2 separate regions of the Homo sapiens genome follow, and region 1 is linked to region 2. The links are contacts of gene promoters, found by promoter capture Hi-C in human tissues and cell types (Jung and others, 2019). All regions are on one chromosome and are shown on one strand. The core of a region is centred on a gene start or on the middle of the fragment in contact, and the rest is flanking DNA. Distances in the headings are between cores, read along the strand shown. Region 1 has its middle 13 kb from the start of NUB1. Region 2 holds the start of CRYGN (crystallin gamma N).

The links. The method cuts DNA at HindIII sites, captures the fragments that hold promoters and counts their contacts. A contact is called where the count stands out against the background at its distance.
Region 1: a fragment that was not itself captured here is called in contact with the fragment with the promoter of CRYGN in region 2 in 4 of the 25 tissues and cell types used here (IMR-90 fibroblasts, liver, lymphoblastoid cells and 1 more).

Annotation. Positions count from the first base shown.
Region 1 is chr7:151,327,584-151,330,621 of GRCh38, forward strand. No RefSeq gene overlaps it. Among named protein-coding and RNA genes, the nearest start is that of NUB1, 13 kb to the right of the region's middle. The HindIII fragment of the contact is 5,924 bases long and covers 1-3,038 here.
Region 2 is chr7:151,438,687-151,441,614 of GRCh38, forward strand. It overlaps CRYGN (crystallin gamma N), which reads right to left and starts at 1,455. Exons shown (of 4, transcript NM_144727.3): 1 at 1,211-1,455. The coding sequence starts at 1,231. RefSeq lists enhancers at 234-734, 735-1,235, 1,947-2,483. The HindIII fragment of the contact is 10,973 bases long and covers 1-2,928 here.

The DNA.
Region 1 (3,038 bases), core at 195-2,694, 110 kb before region 2:
AAAACTGATGTCTTATCCTTCTTAGTGCCTCAAACTAGATCCTGTTCAGATATGTTATAACAAGTTAGTGCAAGTTTATTTTGGTGCAAAAAATTTTTGAAATTTATGTATAGCTTTTTTTGTAATAATACATTGTCCATGAACTTTTTGTAGGCCCCTCATATATACACATTTAGCCAGACAGTGTTTTTCTAACCATAGGTCATGGACTATTAGGCTTTGGACATCCTCCAAGGTGTCTTCTGATGTTAACAAGTGGGTCAGCTAAACAGTCTGACTCACAAGACTGTCATAGCCATATATGGCATTAAATTCACGTAGAAGGATATGGGACAGTGACATGGTCTGAATGTTTGAGTTCTCCCAAAATTCATATGTTGAAGCCTAACCCCCAAGGTGATGATGCTGGGAGGTAGGGCCTTTGGGAGAGACTAGGCAGAGCTCTCATGAATGCGATTAGTGCCCTTATAAAAGAGGCCACAGAGAGACCTCTCACCCCTTCCATCACATGAAGACTCAGAGAGAAGACGCGATCTGTGAATTAGGAAGTGGGCCCTCACCAGACAACAAATCTGCCAATGCCTTGATCTTATACTTCTCAGCTTCCAGAACTGTGATAAATATGTTCCTGTTGTTTATAAATTCCTCAGTTTAAGGTATTTTTGTTATAGCAGCCCAAATTTCCTGAAACAGACCACAGGGCAGTGTGGAGTATTCTTCCACAGTAGCAATCATTACAGCAGTCTATGGAGACATCCACACTGTCCTCCAGGTGTTCTCCTGTATCCTGCACCCCAGGTGATGTGGCACAGGTTCAAGGAAATGAGACTCACATCAGATGGGTTCAAGAGCCGTCCTGACTTGGAAGTCTCATGACCTACACAGGCATAGCTCTTGTAAGAATACCATAGCTTCCTAGTATCTGCGCAGTACATACTTAATTGTAAAAGTTAGTACATGCAGGGACATCTGATGTGTGGAGTCCCCATTAGGTCTCTATAATATACTTATAGTTCCTCCTAGCCCAGGTGCAATTTATCAGCCAGGGGTTATTGAATCATAAACAATGTCCCTTAATAACAAAGCTCACATTCTACCTTCATCAGGTTTCAAAAGGAAAGGTCTAGAAAGTTAAACAATGGTTACATTCTTATGCAGAAGGAGAAAGGGTTGCGTTAACCATTTACTCGCAGACTTGAAATCGGTGGGGTGGTTCTTACTATGGTTAAATGACCCCTCCAAAACTCGTGTTGAAATGCCATTGCCATTGTAACAATATAGAGAGTGGGACTGTTACCAGGTGATTAGGCCACGAGGGCTCTACTCTCATCAATGAGTTAACGTCATTGTTGCGGGAGTGGGTTTGTTATTGCAAGAGTAGGTTGTTATAAGAGTGAGTTCAGCCCACTCCTTCTCTCTCGCACTCACTTGCCCTTCCACCCTCCGTCATGGGACGACACAGCATGAAGGCCCTTGCCAGGTGCCGAGAAGATGCTGGTGGTATTTCTTAGACTTCTTAGGCTCTAGAAACATGAACCAAATCAATCTCTTTTCTCTACAAATTACCCACTCTATGGTATGTTATAAATTATCTAGTCTGTGGTAAACAGACTAAGACAGTTGTCAAGTAGCATTTTTTAAAGAAGATGTAATTGAATAAAAATAATCAGAGTGTACTGCATGTAATAAGGGTAATCACTGTTTTATGGACTTGTAAGTTTTTGTTTCTATTTTTATTTATTTATTGTTTTGAGACAGAGTCTCCTTCTGTTGCCCAGGCTGGAGTGCAGTGGCGTGATCTCGGCTCACTGCAACCTCTGTCTCCTGGGTTCAAGCGGTTCTCCTGCCTCAGCCTCCTGAGTAGCTAGGATTACAGGAGCATGCCACCATGCCTGGCTAATTTTTGTATTTTTAGTAGAGATGGGGTTTCACCATGTTGGCTAGACTGGTCTCAAACTCCTGACCTCAGTGATCTGCCAGCCTTGGCCTCCCAAAGTGCTGGGATTACAGGTGTGATCCACCACACCCAGCCTTCACTTTTTCTAATGGAACAATTTGCATTCATTCTTAATCCTGGGATAGGGAGGGTTATGATGCATGCAGGACATTTGGTATATGATAAAGGTGGCATCTTAAATCAATGGAGAAAAGTTGGTCTATTTGATAAAGAGTGTAGGCTGGGTGCAGTGGCTCATGCTTGTAATCCCAGCACTTTGGGAGGCCAAAGTGGGAAGATGACTTGAGCTTATGAGTTTGAGACCAGTCTGGGCACCATGGTGAAACCCCATCTCTACAAAAAATACAAAAATCAGCTGGGAGTGGTGACTCACACCTGTAATCCCAGCACTTTGGGAGGCTGAGGCGGGTGGATCACTTGAGGTCAGGAGTTTGAAACCAGCCTGGCCAACATGGTGAAACCTCATCTCTACTAAAAATACAAAAATTAGCCAGGCACGGTCAGGCATGCCTGTAGTCCCAGATACTCAGGAGGCTGAAGCACGAGAATCGCTTGAACTCGGAAGGCAGAGGTTGCAGTGAGCCGAGATCACACCACTGCACTCCAGCCTGGGTGACAGAGTGAGACTCCATCTCAAAAAAAAAAAAAAAAAAAAAAAAAAAAGCCAGGTGTGGTGGTATACACCTATAGTCCCAGCTACTCAGGAGGCTGAAATAGAAGGATTGCTTAAGCCCAGCAGGCAGAGGTTGCAGTGAGCTATGATTGTGCCACTGCACTCTTGTCTGGGCAACAGAGTGAGATTCTTTCTCAAAACAACTACAGCAGCAAATAGCAGAGAGACAACTGAATAACTATCTGGGTAAAAGCAAAGTTTGATCCATATCTCACACAGTTCACCAGGATGAATTCCAGATGAATCAAAGATTGTAGTGTAAAAAATGAAACCACTGATAGGGGAGTTAAGAAGACATTATTCAGGCAGATAGTGAGGGTATGGGAGTCCTCAGTAAGGTTTTCCTTTTAATGAAAAACAGCCCTAAAATCATTTTCTTTTCTAACAAAGAGCGGCCTGGAAAATTGA
Region 2 (2,928 bases), core at 205-2,704:
ATTTTGCAGAAATTCGGGTTCCTGGGATTGGGCCTCCTTCACTGGAGAGGCTGAATGGGCCGAAGCCGCGTCAGGGCCTGGCTCGGGATTAATGTTCGCAAAAGAGGGCTTATAAGTGCCACCCTGTCTCTCTGTGTTTTGTAGGTCACTCCTTTGGGTAGCAGGCATGTATCAGATCTGGAGCTCCATCACCCTGCTGGGAGTTCAGACATCGTGTCTTATAGCTACGTGGCACTCACAGGTTGTCCTTGTCCCGAAACAAAACAAAGTGAAGCAATAACAACCCGCCAGACTCATTTCCTGCTGTGGAACCTAAAATCTCAACCATTTAGTAACTCTTTGGGTTTCAAGAACTGTGGCCCTAGAAGGGTCCTGCCAGAGTGCAGTGATGTTCCCCATCACTATGGTCGCTTGTGCCTCACCAGTGTCTCCAGTTCGCTCAAAAGAACACGAGAATTGCCCTTCCAGGCCCCTTGGAGTCAGGCGTGGCCACATGCGTTCACCGGAAAGGAGGCAGACACCTTGGCGTTCTGCACCCCAGAGTTACTGGGGCCCTTTGTTACTGAAGCATCACCTGGCCCATGCAGACTGATACAGCAACACAGTCACCCCCAGACACTCTGGAATGTGGCCTTGGAGACCAAAGGCTTCATGGGAGTGGCTAGGCTAGGGGCACTGGAGAGGGCGAGGGAGAGCCAGGTCTCCCGTCCTTCCTGCACCAGGCACGGCTGGTAGAGGGCCCCTGAAACCTTCAGGGAGGTCTGGGCACCAAAGGGATTCGGGGCTCCCTCAAATCTCAACATTTTTCAGAGAACCAGCCCTAAGTGTCCCTGAAGAGACCCTGGGAAGGAAAAGCCATAGAGGCCAGCCTTGGGCAAAGAAGCCGCAGCAGTGGGGCGGAGGGCTGTGGGACAAGCCAAGCCTCCCCCACCCCAAGGAAGCCCCAGGGAGTCTGAACACCCTCCCTGCTCCTGACTGCAGGGCGAGGGGTTGGAATCCCAGAAGGAAGGAGTGGAGATGGAGACCTTCCTATCCATCCACACCAGAGAGGCCCCAGGCCAGTAGCGAGGCCACCCCATTTTATTAAGAAATTAAACCAGCTTCCCTTGGATTTGTCACCATCAACAGTGTGCACCCTCCTGCATCCCCTAGCACAGGGGGCGAAGGCGGAGCCCCACTCGGTTTCCTTGGGGTTGAGGGACGCACTCACCTTCCCCGAGCGCTGCGCCATGGTGCGCCCCGCCCCTTCCGCGGGTCCCCGTTTACACCGGGCAGCGCCCTGCTGGCTCAGCGCCGCCCCGGACAAAAGATTTGCTGGGCCGGCCCCGGAGCGTTAGTGCTGTCGGGCGTGCTAAGCCCGAGGGGCCACCAGGCGGTTGGGACCCGCCGCGGCCACCCTGTGCCACCGCGAGTGCAGCCCGCCCTGCCCGGGGTCTCCCTGTGCTCTCCGCGTTTAGCTCCCGAGCCTCCTTCCTCCCTGAGCCCTCCCGCCCAGCCCGCGGCTGCCCCTGCCCTGCCCTGGAGTGGTGGGGGGAGGAGGGGAGGTGTCTCTCTAGCCCTCCAACCTTTCTTCCCCTGCGCTGCCCCTCAGCCCTCACGCCCATCTCCCTCCCTCCCAAGGCCTGTTCCGAGCTCCCCAGCCCACTCCCCTTTCTCACCTGGCTGCAGGTAGTCTCGCCTTGGTGCCAACTTGTTTGTCTCCACGAGGATGCAACCCAAGCTTCCCCGGACAGACAGACAGCCCTTGACCGCCCCTCCCCTGGCTGCTCTGGTCTGAGCTCCCAGGTCCCCACCTTAGACCTCCGGCTCCAACTCACCCAGCTCCTGATGCACCCCCCCACACCCCACAAAACGCCAGGCCAGGTCAGGCCTCCCTCCTCCCGCTCTCTTCCTGCCTGCCTCCCTCCCTGGCACTCTCCCTCCCTGGGTCCCTCTCTCCTTGAAGATCCTGCCTAGGGTGACCAGGTGACCCGCGCTGCCCTGAGCTGGGGGTACAGTGCTCTGCCCCTTGCCTCTCTGCTGCACCAACTAAGCCACCCTGGACGCCCAGGATCAGTTTACAGCACAAAGCAGCCCCACCGCGGAGGGAGAGTTCCCCAGGGCCCAGAACGAGCACTTGGCAGACAGCAGAGGCTCAGAGATTGTGGAGTGAGCAGAGCGAACATGGAGCCCACAGGATGTGCAGCCCCCACACGGCTGGGGAGATGAGCTGGGAACACAGGACTCATGACTCAGATGGCTGGGGTGGTGGGGGACAGGCTCTGAGATCAAAGGAGAGAGGGGCAGGTGCTCCACAGGGGCTTCTGCTGGAGGGGAGGGAGGAGCTTTGGGGAGGAGTTTGGGCTGCTCTTCCTTCAAACAGTATATTTTTATGACCATTTCACAGATGAGACACTGAGGCCCAGGAAGAGGAGGTTATGTGATTCTTGGGGCAGAGGGGTGACCTTGCCTCTGCTGTGGGAGGTTTTCAAAAGTAGACAGGGTACAAACCAGAACCTGCATGTCACCCTTGAACCCAGGGACGGTCCTCCCTAGGGACGCCCCTCCCTAGGGACGCCGCCCAGCTGCCTCCACTGGCGCCCTTACTTGCCAAGCCACACATTCCAATGTTTCTCTCTGGACCTGGGCCCTGGTGGGGACATAAAATTAAAAACAAAATCTCCAGCCAACCCAGAAAACTTCTCCACGAAGGTAGAAGGAAAAAAAAACAATTTTATTATTGAATAAACTTTAAACTGGAATGCGATCTGCATCACGATCTCTCCCCTAAGAGATCGCAAAGATGGAGAGAGATCTCACTCTTCTGTAGCCAAGCAGACACAACCCACTGCATTCATGTTTTCAGGATAAAATTGCTGATTTTCTTGTATCTCTATGACTGGAGGTGGGTTTTGCAATTTGGAGTCAGGTGACAGCTGAAGTCAGGCT